Linked DNA regions of Homo sapiens: regions 2, 3, 4 and 5 are each linked to region 1. The links are contacts of gene promoters, found by promoter capture Hi-C in blood cells and fetal thymus (Javierre and others, 2016). All regions are on one chromosome and are shown on one strand. Each heading gives the region's core, a stretch centred on a gene start or on the middle of the fragment in contact. The rest is flanking DNA. Distances are from core to core; before and after follow the strand shown. Region 1 holds the start of GPRIN2 (G protein regulated inducer of neurite outgrowth 2). Region 2 overlaps FRMPD2 (FERM and PDZ domain containing 2). Region 3 overlaps FRMPD2 (FERM and PDZ domain containing 2). Region 4 has its middle 74 kb from the start of OR13A1. Region 5 holds the start of LOC105378283 (a long non-coding RNA gene).

Region 1 (2,833 bases), core at 334-2,833:
CTAATTCCTGGACAGGGGCAGAAGTGGGTAGTGGCCTCGGCAAACAAATCCCCTATTTGCCTCCTTTAAGCAGGATCCCCCTACCAGGCAGTGTGTGATGGTGAGGCCCAAGCCTGGGGTCTGACGTCGACACCCCTGTGGGCATTTGGCCAAAGGCAGCCATCTGCCAGAATCTGAGAGCTGCTCTCAGACCTCGCTGGAGAGGGCTACCTGGGGCAGTCTGAGTCTCTCTGGGCAGACTGAGGTCCTTTGCTACCCAAACGGGGAGAATTAGAGATACTGTTGGCTCCTGGGCACTGGAAGGGAGGAACGCAGGCCTCTCAGCACAGGGCTGGGCCAACAAGTTGGGGGTCCCGGCACAGGGGACAACGGAGAAGTGCCAACATTGGGACCCAATTATGTGATACTGGGGCCCAGAGATAGTACAGGTGCCTCATACCACGTGGCCCTGGGTGGACAGCAGGAATCTATTGCGAGTGGCGGGAGGCCGGGGCTGCCTGTCCTGCGCCCTGAAGCTGGCCAGCGGTTGTGGAAACTGGGGGATATTGAGGGAACCGTAGGCCCAGGTCCTCAGCCTCATAGTGTGGAACCTGGCGATCCCAGGGCCTGGGCTGGCCCCCGGCGTCACGGGACCGGGAAGGCGCTGTGGTGCTGCGGGGAATTGCGGAGAAGAAGGCGGGCTCCAGTGGAGGTGGCTCATCCCCGCACGGTCACTGCCCTCGCCCGCTGTTGGGGTCCGCGGCTGGGAGACTGAAGGCCTCAAGTCGGGCTGGGTAGGGGCACGTGGGCAGGGAAAGGGGTGGTAGATTACCAGTCTTCAGGGGCGGGGCTGGAGATGCAACCCTAGGGAAGGAGTCTACCAGGCTGGGCTCTTGAGGGGCAATGGAGGGCTCCGGGGGCCAGGCCAGGCCAGGATCATGGAGTTCAAAGGACTGGAGTGAGGTTTGGGGTCCATGAGAGTGGAGCTCAGAGGATGGGACGGTGGGTCCAGGATTTGGGACCTGGGGCTGGAAAGTCCGAGGCTAGTGGAGACCAGGCCTGGTATCCCAGACGAAAGGGCCCTATAGGAAACGGGGTCTCGTGGGCGGGATCTGGAGCCAGAGAATTGTGAGAGGCGGAGCTAGGATGGAGAAGGCGAGAGGAAAGGGGTAGCCGCCGGCGCGGAGACCTCAATGCGGGGCGTGGTGCGGAGGGGGAACTGGAGCGAGGGGCACTGGAGCGAGGGGGTGGGGCTACGAGGAGGTGGACTTGAGGGGCTGGGTCTGGGGCCGGAGAATCGTGGGGAGCTGCGCCTATACACCCGGGACGGTGGGGTTGCGTCGGGGAAGTGGGAGTCTTGGGGGTTCGCTGGGCAGCCTGGAGAACAGGCGGTCGTGGTGCGGGCGGGGCCGAAAAGACCGAGGACAGTGGGGACCCGGCCTGAGGAGGGGTCGGGAAGGAGGGGTGGGGGCGCGCGGACGCAGATCCCGGGCCGCGGCGGGGCGGTGGCAGGCTCCAGAGTGGCACGGGCCCAGGTGAGCGAGGTCTCCGCCCGCCGCCCCTCCCGCCGCCCCGGTGCCAGCTGCCCCGCTGGCCCCTCCCTGTACCCGGCGCTTGCTCCGCGGGCCGGGCCGACGGCGGCGGGCGGCGTCTCGCGCCCAGGCCAGGTCGGCTCTGGCTCCATCTTGGGCCGCGGCACCTGGCACCTGTGGCGGCCGCAGGAGCAGCGCTTCCCCCGCCTGCGCGGCCCCGGCGGGCGAGAGGGTGAGAGGCTGGCTCCGCGCGCTCCCGTTGGGGCGGGGGGCGTGGTGGGCGGCACCTCCCCCTTGCTGAGCCTCAGAACCCACTCCTTCCCGCTGCCTGCGCTCAGACCCCCGGCATCCTGGCCCCTGCCCAGCGCCCAGAGCCCCCGGTGGCCGCATCGCACTCCCCGCGCTCCGCCTCTCATTGTCCTGTCCTGTCCCCTCTTCTACGTCTCCTCTGCCCATCCTCCCATTTTCACAAGTCTGTCCGGGACCCTGTCTCCTTCGGCCTCCACCCCTGCTGCCATCGCTCCTCCCTCTCCCCTTCTTCCTTTTCCCCTCCCTCAGCCTACTGCGCCGCCTACCCCGCCCCCAGCCTTGCTGCCCTTTGGCTTCTCCTGTCCCGCATCATTACCCCGGCCCACAGCCCCATTTGCCTGCAGTCGCTGCCTTTGCTCCTGAGAAGGTCTGTAGCCTCGTTTCGGGCCCGTATTGAGCCCCCTTCTCCCTAAGTCCGGGTGGGCTTTGTGCAGGAGGGGCGGGAGGGGAGCTATTCTGGGCGAGGCTGCGTGGTGCGGTGCTTTCAGGCCTTTGGCCCCGCAGCAGGGGCGGCCTGTGCTTGGCGTGCAGAGTGCAGCTGGGTAGACGCTGTTACTGCATACGGGCCTGTGTGTCCCAGGCTGGGGCATGAGTGCTTGTGAGCGTGCAGATAGGGACACACCGGCCGCCTAGGCTGCTTCTAGGCCGGGGCACCCTCTCCACCTAGGTGCCCCCCAGGGATTGTGGGCAAATCCTCCCCAGGGGAGGAAGCTCAGGGGCTGTTGGGCGCCTAGGCCTCTTCCTGGTGAGCAGAGCCTCATCCATGGGGCCACTGACCCCACAGTTACCCCAGAACCCTTTCCTGGCACAGCTTGTGACCCGGGGCATGTAGCCCTTAAGGCACGTTCATTGTGAAGGGCAGGTTTTGTCTCCTCCAAACCCTCCCTTTAGGAATGCTGCCTGCTGCTTTGCCCAGAGTTGGCCCTGAGTGTTCCTATCAGGCCCCGTTCACTCTGGGGTGGATTAAACCACCTCCTGGAGGGTGCTGTATCCCCACTGTGCAATGGGGGTTT
Region 2 (2,700 bases), core at 138-2,637, 1.7 Mb before region 1:
TAAGTGTTTGAGGCTGGTGTGGCTAGTTAAGACCATACGTCATCCAACTGCCTTTTGGTCTCCATGGTTTTTGATGAGAAATCAGCTGTTCATTTTATTGGGCAGTCCTTGTTTGTGATGAGTCCTAAATATTTTCTCCCATTTTCCTCCATGAAAGTTTATAGTTTTATGTTCTATATTAAATCTATGATTCATTTTGAAGTAATTTTTGCATAAGGTGCAAGGTTTAGGACCATGTTCAGCTTTTTTCCATGATGGATCCAGAACTATTTGTTGAAAAGTTTGTCCTCCCTCCATTGAATTATTGTACTGAAATAATGGTCTTCACTATCCACACCAGCCTAGAAGACTTTTAATGCATTTTTGTCTAGTCATAAAGCAATTTAAAAAACCCCACCCATTCAATATTTTATTTTGGGATTTAGAGATTTTTTGTATAAGAATCATGGTCTTCTTCTTCCCCCTTCTTATCTTTAATAAGCAACCTTTCACTGTGGCTATAGAGAGTTAGAAAAATGTGGTGGAATAGGAATGCCTAGTCCATAAGTCTCAAACAGTTTCTAAAGAGAGAGGAGAGATAAAAAAACGAAAGAAAAGGAAAGGAAAAGGAAGGAAAGGAAAGAAAAAAGAAAAGAAATAGAAAAGAAAAAGAGAGAGGGCCTGGAGTTCAGCTTCTAATTCATCACTTTTTACTTGATTACCTTGGACTTATTTCCTGTCTGTAAATGGAAACAATACTCCCTTCTTCACAGACTCCTTGTGATAAGTGACGGCTCACAGGTCAAGCTTTCTGAGGGGGTCCTGCTGCGGCTCCCTTTCTGCCCCAGGGAGAGGTAGCAGACCAAGCCTCTTTCTCCTGAAACCAGCCTCTCTTCCTGAGGCTGGAGGAGGCTGGTAGCAGAGGTGTCTGCAGGGAGCTGGGCAGCTGGGGAGTAGATCTTGGATTAGTGTGTCAATGGGGGATGGGGGTGCCTCTATGTGCTCCCCATCTAGCGCCCGACACTGCACACCCGCCCTGCTTGAGCTCTGGCTGTAGAGAAAGATCAGTGAGGATGTAAATGGATTAGGAAAAGCCCGCCTGGCTTCTTCCGGTGCCACTCAGCACCTGGGTCTCTGGAGATTAGTGGGTGGCAGCTTTGTCAGGGAGATAGACATTTAAACATCAGCTTTGGTCTAAAGGCCCTGCTTACCAGAAGAGAGGGAAGAGAAGACTAGCCCTCTTGAGCCTCCTCCAGTTTATCTGTGAGGCTGCCCCTTTCTGAAACATGGGGCTTATACTTCTGTCTAGTGAGTCGCTCTGGCACTTCAGGCAGGTGCTGGAGAAAGGGGTGGTACTGGCACCAAATCTGACTCTACATGTGGCAGCCAGAGATGAAAGATGTGAATCACGTACTGCAGGCAAAAATGTTAGCTAACTTCTCCAGAGAGAGAAGGAGAGGAGGCCACACACTACCCAGGTGTAGGTTACTCTCTGCAACAGCTCGCACCCAGCTGGGAGGTGCTGTTCTCATGTTTCATTTGGTTGTTCATTTATTTATTCATTTAACCTTTCATTTGGGAGTTTTATTGTTTGTTTACTCATTCACTGAGAACCGACCAGCCAACCTGGTCAGTCCTCCAATTAACATTTCTTTAACTCCTCTGTGTGCTTGGCTCTGTGCCTGACCCCAGGGACCCAGGTGCTGAAAACACAGTGCCGGTGTGCAGTAGTGGCCAGACCATGCCTGGCTGCACCAGAGTGGCGAGTACGGGCCCGGACATGTTCCTGGACATTGCAGAGGCCCTGTCACATGCATGTCTTTATTGTAGGCATGAGCCTGTCCTCTGTGACGCTGGCCAGCGCCCTACAGGTCAGGGGTGAAGCTCTGTCTGAGGAGGAAATCTGGTCCCTCCTGTTCCTGGCCGCTGAGCAGCTCCTGGAAGACCTCCGCAACGGTAAGAGAGTGTTTGGGGGCAGTCAAATCACAGGGAGTTGTATGTGAAGCTTCCCACACAAACACAGTTCTGGCTGCTGCTGCTTTTTTAAATCAACCTCTGAGAGCACAGAACAAGGTTGCTGCTGCTTGATCTGTGATTACTCTGAGGTATTAGAATGAGTAGAAGAATAGCACCTATCCTTGGAGCTGCACTGGGAGGGCAGGCCTGACTCTTGGACCCATGCCATGTGGCAGAGTCAAAAGAAAGGCTTTGCTTCTGCCTTGGTGTTGCAGCATTTCCAGGCATGCAAAGCTGGGAGGATTTAGGAAGAGAGTGGCTGCAGTGCTATGGGTGTCTAACAGCACATGGGCTGTCTCTGGGCATAACCAGAGATGAGAGGCAGGGTGTGGTCACCCAGGACACCCCTACACTCTGTCCACCAGATGTTGCACTAGTCTGTGCCCCATCAGAAGGCAGACCTGGCTGGGCACGGTGGCTCACACCTGTAATCCCAGCACTTTGGGAGGCCAAGGTGGGCAGATTACCTGAGGTCAGGGGTTTGGGACCAGCCTGGCCAACATGGTGAAACTCCATCTCTATTAAAAATACAAAAAAAAAAATTTGCCAGGTATGGTTGCGCTCGCCTGTAATCTCAGCTACTCGGGAGGCGGAGACAGGAGAATTTCCTGAACCCAGGAGGCAGAGGTTGTAGTGAGCCAAGATTGTGCCACTGCCCTCCAGCCTGGGCAACAGAGCAAGACTCATCTCAAAAAAAAAAAAAAA
Region 3 (2,700 bases), core at 76-2,575, 1.7 Mb before region 1:
ATAGAGCATTTTAATTAACAGACCCAAATATCTTTTGTTCCTCTACAATGAGGAGACAAAAGTATATAAGCTTAAACTTATGTTCAACAACTAATATTTCAGCATAATATCTTATTTGGAAGTGGTCTATTAAATGAATATTCATCATTTCATTTAACTTACTATAACTGTAATGTTTTAAGTAACCAAAAAGATTTTATAAACCATTTTAAGTAGATATATCTTATAAAACATAATCATTGTTGAAAAGCTTACTTATACTCTATTTCATTTATATTTACATTTATTAATTCACTTGGTTTTAACAATTATGTTTGAATTGTTTATAAAAACTCCATAAGACATGAAACAAATGTAGTCATTATCTTACGTTATTTTTATTGTTAGTAAATCAGGCAAGTATTAAAAAATACCACAGAAGCAAAGAACCTAAAAGTTAAAACATATGGCTTTTTTTAACTCTCTTTTTTCATTGTCACATTTGTCTCACATCAAGCAATTTATTTTTACTGTATGTTTTATTCTTAGGTTACATTTACAATTTTACCATCTTAAACATACATACGCTTTTGCTTGATAAATCCAGATAGAAGAAGTCGTATGTCTGTATTATGTTTAATGTTGACAAGTCTCCAAACATGACTATTTTAATTGAACCAAAAAACTTAAACTAGCTTCTATATTTACCAAAAATTATACCAGATCACCTGAACTCAAAAAACATTTAGGTTAGTTCTGTTTTTCTGAGAAAACAGTTAATTTATAAAAGTGTTTATTTTCTTCCTTCAAGCCAAATCTTCTCGCATGTACCAATAGGACAGTTGTTCATGATGAGGGCTCTCTAAAAATACTTTTAGATACAAAAGTCCAAATATCCAAAGGTATAACCACTTCAATTGTGACTCAAAGCCAATAAGCCTTTTATGTCTTAACCATGGATACGAGAGGCTTCCACAAAAAGAGCGTGAAAAATGCAGTACCCCCCTCGAGATCCAACATCTCTCCCAAAGACGAAAAACAAAGACCTTACTTGTTAACAAGGTAGTGGAGGTTGAAACAATTGAGACAAATTCCCCTGGGAGCTGGCACTCTGGGACAAGGAGATGCTTCATGTTTCAGACTCCTAGCCAGCTGGCTCGCCATCTGATGCAAACCTGACAGTCTCCACCACCCAGCTGGTGGAGACCAGAGAAGATATCCTCACTGGCTACAGAGCTCTTGAGACATAAAACAAGATGAAAGGAGAGTCTTATTGTAACTTTTATCCTTGTGGTAAATCACACAGAAGACAGAGATTAAAAAACAAAAAAAAAGAGCGATTTCTGTTAGAACCTAGAACCAAATTCACAAGAGTCACAATTCAGAGAACAACCTTACAAATGTTTTTCTCCTGCCAATTCAAATTTAGAAAAGAAGGGACAAGAAAAAATTTTTACCTTCTTCTCTTAGCTAGGCACTATCCATAGATATTTGGGAAAGCTGGCTTTGGAAAGAATCCCCCCACCTTTTGCAGGCTTTTGTCAGGCCTCTCAGCATCTCATCCATAGGCTGGAGTGAGTGGGGTGTCCAGCCTCTTAGGGTCCCATCCTCATTGCCAGAAACTGTAAGGAAGGAAAACTTCTACTTCCATCCTTTATCCTCACAGGCTCCAGCTGTGTCTGAGAAATAAACTAACATAAGAAAGATCAACAGGAGAAAAGCATAATAAATGTTTTATGTGGCATGGGAGCCCCCATAAGAAGATGAAGACTCCACCAAATTAGTTACTGGGTTGGACAAAAAACAGTTAATTGTGAAAATGGGACTAAATTATGAGGAGGCTTAAAAGATCAGAGTTATTCCAACAAGGTCTGTATGGTATTCTGTGTCTAAACTTCTTGTCCTTGAAGATAAGGATGTTGCCTTTCCTTCCAGGAGAGGGAGGATGACTATCACATGGGAATTTCATCTTCTTTAAGAAATAACACAAGGGTCAAAGTGGCCAATTTGCACCTGCTCTTAAAAGTGCGCTTAAAAGTGCCTTTAACTTAAATAGCTGATAGGCCCAAATGGCATATTTTAACTTCTTTATTCCACCCATCTAGAACTTCCCTAGAAGATTCACATATTAAAAAATGACTTGGTGGTCATGGAGAGAAGAATTAGATTAGTAGCTGAGCAGTTTGGAAAAAAGAGGAGTTCGGCTAGAGGAAGACAAAGAGGAGGAGGAATTGTAGATAGGGGAGGGAAGGTTCTGGAGACAAATGAGTCTCAGCTAGCTTTGAGATATTTGCATTAAGGCATTTTTGAGTCCTGAATGCGTTTTGAAGCCTCAAGATGCCAATTGAAATATGTGCCCCATTCAAACTGACCTTATAGCTGCAGTCTTCTAATTTTAATTCTAAGGAAAAAACAAGCTTGGGCAGTTCAAATGGTCTCCATCTGGCCATTGGAGCTCTAAATTATCTTTGGTATAATTTGTCCATAAGCTTAAAAATTCATGGGGTGAATTATGTTTGGAAAGTCTATGTGATGCCAATTTAAATTCTGTACACAAACAACCAACCCCAAAAGAGTACACATCAGAAAGGATGCCAAATCCCCTACAAAAGTGAAACCAAAAGAATACTCAGAAGAAGGACCATGTCCTTCAGACCTATAAAACCAGATCTCGAATCAAGTCAAAGCAAGCCAAAATGAGGGTGCTCAAATCCAAGACAG
Region 4 (2,700 bases), core at 9-2,508, 1.3 Mb after region 1:
TGGAGGTAGTGTCCTTGTCTAAAAGAGAGTCTGAATGCTAGCCACTTCACCTCAATGTGATCAGAAAAGTTCAAAGGATCCTCGAGTATTCGTCTTTAAAGGAGAAGGCTCCTGTGTCATGCTTCCTGTAGGGGTGTTTGTGTGAATGAGCTGCTGCATTGCATGTGTGTGTGCTGCTTGAAATTCACTTCACTGCTCAGGGTCTCAATTATCTCAAAGGTAAACGAAGAAGCTGGATTACCTTTTTCTAAAGTTTGTTCACATATAATGATCTTTTTGAATTATTCCTGCGAAGTTGAAAGAGCACTGAACGCTGGAATGCATACATTAATTATGCATATTTTTCTCCTAAGATTGCAACAGAGACTATCACAAGGCATTTGGCAACCTGAGGAGTACTGGATGGCCAGATAACTACGACAGTGACATGGATTGCACCATTACTCTCACAGCCCCCCACAACCACACCCTCTTTTTTCATTTGTTTGGCATTGAGAACTCAATTGAATGCAGAAACGATTTCTTGGAGGTAATATGCATTTGAATATCATTTAAATGATGATGGATTTTACACCTTTTCTTTAGTGCTTCTAATGCTCTATGATTCTTACTTGTTTCATTAATTTATTCATTACCCTTTCATTCCCTAAACATTTACAGAGCACCAGTCCAAACACCGGAAATTGGGAACCTCAGGGCCCTCGGAAGACTCCTAGTCTGGTGGAAAGGACAGATGGGGTATAGCCAATTACAGCACAATGTGGAAAGGACTAACTGAGTCCAGCAGGGGTAGGGGTTCCTAACTCAGTCTGGGAACTAGAAAGCTTCTTTAAGAGGGCAATATGTAAGTTGAGACCTAAAAGGATCAGAGGAAAGTCTAAGAACAACAAGCTGATTCTGTAAAATGAAACTGAATGATACTAAATAGCTCACCTAATTTCCCTGACAGCTACAGTAAGTTTGGGGCATCGTCAACATCCTCTAAAGACAAGTGTTGCCTTGAAAAAGTGCTCCCTTGTTGCAGGAAGTGTGGTCTGTCCTTTTTCCACCACAACTCCAGAGCTCTCATTTGGACACAGAAGTGACTTTGCTGTTTGCCCATTCTCCACCCATTCACCCCCAACTCCCACCCCAGGACACACTGAGAGAGAAGCCCCCCTTGCACCTGGAGCAGGCAGAGCCATGCCCCTTGTGGGCCTGAACCTTTGGGGTCTTCCAGAGCCCCTGGTGAGCTCCCTCTGTGCTCTTTCTGCCACATCACCTGCATTGAGCATGTGAGATGGAACATGAATATCATTGCTCATAGGCAGGAAACGGTCTGAATAAGACTCATCTGATGCGGACCCAGTGTGTGGAACTCAGCACCTGTGTTTTGCCAGAAAACCCCCCAGAGCTCATGCGGTTGTGACCTTTGCAAGCTCTGTTGAAAATGCATTCATCCTTAGGAAATAAACTCAGGTGGAACCTGAGACTCAAAAGGATAAGGATGCTGAATTCCTCTGAGAGTGGAATTTAAATCTAAACCTCATCCCGATGCTCTCTAAACTGGCTTTGTTTCACCATACAAGAGGCTTCAGTAAGGTTTCCAAAAAGTTTGCTTGTTCCTCTACACCTGATCTGGAGTCGTATTTTTTGTTTTATTTTTTTTTCTCACTGCCTCTTTGATCAGGTCTTCATTCAAAATAAGCTTCCCAAGATGATTTGATCTTTGTAGCATAAACAAATGTACTGGTGTATGCAGCAGGCTTCTTTCCTTCTGTGGGAGGATTCTTTCCAGTGGGCTTCTGTTCAGCTGCTAGTTTCTTGGTAGCTGCAGCCTTTGTTCCCAACAAAACATCTTTTCTCACCTGCAACCCACCTCATCTGATTTGGCTTCTAGGGCTGCTGTCACCTTCTGCCCGGCCTGGTGAGGAAGGGTGTTCTGGCACATGGTCTTTGCCTATGGGTTTAGCTTCAACATGATTCTTGATGCAGTTTTATCATCCTGGAAAGCTCTCCCCTTTGGAATTCATCTAAATCCTTTATTAATCAATAGCCTTAACATGTAGTTTCATAAATAACACTCAGAGGAAGCTCATGCCTTTTCTAAAGGAATATTCCCATGACAGGAAACCAAAAGATGTATGTAGCAGGGAGGAAACGAAGAGACAAATACAGTATTCTTTGTGCCGGTCAGGTTACTCAACTTGGACCTACGTACCTCCCCCACCACGGAGATCCATATATTTATATGAAGTGTAAAGCAGAAAGAATGAGGAGAGTGGGATCTGGATGAAAGATGGAATAATCCCGTTAGGTTGGAGTCACAGTGCAACTAACTCTTAACTCACTCCAGCTTGAATGGACCATTATTGATCAGAGTCAACATTTGCCATTTGCCTGATAGATGCTGGGAAGCAAAGCCTTGCTTTCCAGCCATGGACAGTAAGAACTCTTCCTCCTCGCTGTCCTTCATTACTCCGTAGAATGGATCTGAAACTTCCTGTCCCATAAGCAAAGAAAGGAAACCACAGCTTAGGCCTGTAAAATGTAGCTCCGTCTGGCTCTCGGTGGGAAGACTGTGGGCATAGTTTATTGGCAGCTGGACCAGGAAGCCTCAGCATTCCATTCTTGTGAACTGCCGTAGGAACAGAAATGTCTGACTGAGGATTCTGTGTTACTACCAAGTGAGGGCCGAGCTCTAGACCATGCCTGGAATCT
Region 5 (2,829 bases), core at 290-2,789, 1.3 Mb after region 1:
TTTATTCCATAGTATGAAATTGTCTCTCAGGACAGGGTTTTTGGTGAGAGAAGCACAGGATATTGCTGGGTAACAGACTGGGTCAGGAAAGAGGGAGGCAGAGGGCAGCAGTTTTGCTAGAATTTAAAATTTGGTTGCTTTTGGAAGAGAAAGCGGGAGGTTCCTGGGAGCCAGAATGTTATGTTTCACAGATGTAAAAGTCATAGTCGGGAAAGACATCGCTTTAGTGGTGTTTTCAAATGACCTTTAAATGGTAGGGTTTTACTTGTAGCTTCCAGCCCTGAGGGTGGTTCTTGTTGCTTAAGGGCAAAAGGGTCAGGGGTAAAAGCCAGCCTTAGAAACCTGTCAAAAAAGATTTCCAGCGGGGCGCTGGAGAAACGTAGACCACGCCAGAATTCCTGTCTGGAGAAGCTCTTCATAGGGCGAGAGGCTGCGTGCCCCACAAGGTCCTTCAGAGGCACATTGTGGGACTCAGGGTAGCAACTTCTGGCGAGTGGAGCCGCAGTTACAGAAGCGAAACATTCGAAGGCAATTTACTTCCAGCTTTCGCAACACCCACCCTCAGCCATTACCCTCCCTTGCGCAGTCGCGCCATAAACTTCTCTGCTTTCCCCCACAGCCCTCTGGGCTTCGACCCATCAACTGAACACGCGCCAAACATCGCGCGCACGCGCCAAGCTCGGCCCAATCAGAGTTCCAAACCGCGGAGTGTTCGCCACGGCGATAAATTAACCTCAGCGTGGCGCGGGGTCTCGAAGCCGAATAACGTACGTGATTGGCCAGCCTCTTCCATATTCTTTTAAGGGCGGAACCTGGCCCTGGAGCCACGCCTAGCGAGCTGTTCTCTTAATATGGGTAGGTTCGGGCGTGGAGCTGGCAGCTGCGCGGTGTGCCGAGACAGGGCGTGTTAGTTATTTAGTGCAGGTGTAGCAGGGAACGAGGGCATCTGTCGCAGCCGGAGTGCGTCCTGCCGAAGCCTGTGGTTGCACGCCCACCCTCTTAGGGGCTGCCCTCTGCGGTGAGTGTGTGCGGCGTCGCACTTGGGGTTGCTTCTCTCTGCGTGGCCGGACCGGGGCTGGACCCTTCCCAGTCCCCTGCCCTGCCCCATCCCCTCCCTGCACCCGGACGCCCTTCAGGCTGACGTGGCTTTGGTTTAAACCCTCTCCACACTTTTCCAGGTTGTCCGTTACCGACTGTAATGCTCCAGGTTTCTAGGCGTGATGCACAAGGCCTTTCCGAATCTGAACACTACCTTACCCTTCCATGCAGTTGGCATTTCAGCCATTCTGAATTTATTGTCCTTTCTGGACCGGAGCCTACTTGTTCAGATCTTGGTGCTTTTACGAATTCTGTTTTCTCTCACCCTCAGTCTTTTTCACCTGAAATCGTTTTACTTCTAAGAGTCAGCTTAGACATCACCACCTGTGTAAAATCTTCTCTGTCTGCACCAAGCTAACATAGCCACTCCCTGCCCTGTGAAGTTGGACGTGTGCCTTGTTTTGTGACTTCTGTCACGTAGGATTGTAATGATTTTTTTTTTTTTTAATCTAGAAGTCTCCCTTCTCCACTGGGACATTGGGAAGACAAAAGCAGTGCAATGTTCATGCTTGCATTTTTTTTTTTTATAATAGTGCCTGGAGCACAGTAGATGCTCAAAAATAGTTTGAGGAATGAAAAAAAATGAAAGAATGATGGATTAGGCCCATGAGTGTGTGAGATCACGTCCAGGATGTGACGAGAGAAGAAGGGAGATGTTCAGGAGACCCTGAAAGGTGATGGAAAGCCATTGAGACATGGAAAGAATGGCAGAGTCAGGTTTACTGTGAAGCCATGCTTTTCCCGGTTTGAAAACCTGCCTGGGATAGAGATTGGAGTTGATGCCATTAATACGTCTTGGCAGAAGGAAAAGGGAGGAAATGTAGTTGATTTGCGTTTCATAGCCTTTATGAAAATACGTGCCATTAAACTTAGGTTGTGTACTAGTTAGCTTCTCAGCCTTGGTGTGTGTTGGTCTCTTGCATTCCGTAAGGGTCCTCGCTGTCAGCAACAGAACAGATGCCTCTGGAACTGAAGATCTAGGTGTGTCCCTTGCTGCCCCTGCCCAGCTCTGCCATGATCATGGTCATTATTGGGAGCACTGTTGATACAGAGGAGAAAGAGAAGGGGATAGGGAAGATGATGCCTGGCATAGCGGGACCCTTGGCCCCCATGGCTTTCCTCCCTCCAGCACTCGTTCTCACTGGGTAGAAGAGAGAGGCTGCTTTCAGCAGAGGAGCTTTATACCCTTCAGCTTTTGAAGAGGAGACTTTATGTGATATTTATAAATGGGGAGAATGGCTTAGCTATTTCGGTTGAGCTCTATTATCTCTTTGAAGCCATTGCTTTTATTAGGGAAGAAAAGATAGCCACTTGCTTCCTGAAGTAAATTTCAGTATTGGGTACTGAAAAGCAAGATCATTCTTAAATTTTCCTAAAGAAGAAGCTAATGAAGAATAATAGTGCTTTTTGGGAAGCTGGGTGGAAGTGAATTTGGAGATGTCAAGAGTCCACTTCCTCTGGCTTCTGTAACATTGACCCAAGGCTGCTCTCTGCAAACTCCCTGACCTCGGGACTCCTCGGAGCCTACGGGGTTCCAGGATGCTCTTCGGAGCCTCCACTAGGGCTCAGTTCTCAGCAGTGCACACACAGTGACACAGTGCTTAATATATACAAGTATTAAAATATTTCACTTGGCTACATTAATTATAAGTGTAATTTTTTTTTTTTCCTGAAAACAGGGTCTCGCTCTGTCACCCTGGCTGGAATGCAATGGTGCATTCACAGCTCACT

Evidence for each region. The method cuts DNA at HindIII sites, captures the fragments that hold promoters and counts their contacts. A CHiCAGO score of 5 or more calls a contact.
Region 2: a fragment that was not itself captured here is called in contact with the fragment with the promoter of GPRIN2 in region 1 in 1 of 17 cell types (erythroblasts); the score reaches 6.1 in erythroblasts.
Region 3: a contact is called between a fragment that was not itself captured here and the fragment with the promoter of GPRIN2 in region 1, in 1 of 17 cell types (erythroblasts). The highest score is 13.6, in erythroblasts.
Region 4: a fragment that was not itself captured here is called in contact with the fragment with the promoter of GPRIN2 in region 1 in 1 of 17 cell types (total B cells); the score reaches 6.8 in total B cells.
Region 5: a fragment that was not itself captured here is called in contact with the fragment with the promoter of GPRIN2 in region 1 in 1 of 17 cell types (total B cells); the score reaches 6.8 in total B cells.

What each region holds. Positions count from the first base shown.
Region 1 is chr10:46,555,408-46,558,240 of GRCh38, reverse strand. It overlaps GPRIN2 (G protein regulated inducer of neurite outgrowth 2), which reads left to right and starts at 1,583. Exons shown (of 3, transcript NM_001385282.1): 1 at 1,583-1,743. RefSeq lists enhancers at 136-841, 1,547-2,252. The HindIII fragment of the contact is 15,777 bases long and covers 1-2,833 here.
Region 2 is chr10:48,250,801-48,253,500 of GRCh38, reverse strand. It overlaps FRMPD2 (FERM and PDZ domain containing 2), which reads left to right. Exons shown (of 29, transcript NM_001018071.4): 2 at 1,810-1,935. Among named protein-coding and RNA genes, the nearest start is that of FRMPD2, 23 kb to the left of the region's middle. The HindIII fragment of the contact is 1,198 bases long and covers 789-1,986 here.
Region 3 is chr10:48,225,839-48,228,538 of GRCh38, reverse strand. The region is part of intron 10 of FRMPD2 (FERM and PDZ domain containing 2); the gene reads left to right. Among named protein-coding and RNA genes, the nearest start is that of FRMPD2, 48 kb to the left of the region's middle. The HindIII fragment of the contact is 2,146 bases long and covers 253-2,398 here.
Region 4 is chr10:45,239,762-45,242,461 of GRCh38, reverse strand. It overlaps the pseudogene CUBNP2. Among named protein-coding and RNA genes, the nearest start is that of OR13A1, 74 kb to the left of the region's middle. The HindIII fragment of the contact is 863 bases long and covers 827-1,689 here.
Region 5 is chr10:45,222,508-45,225,336 of GRCh38, reverse strand. It overlaps LOC105378283 (a long non-coding RNA gene), which reads left to right and starts at 827. Exons shown (of 6, transcript XR_001747443.2): 1 at 827-1,018. The HindIII fragment of the contact is 3,272 bases long and covers 1-2,829 here.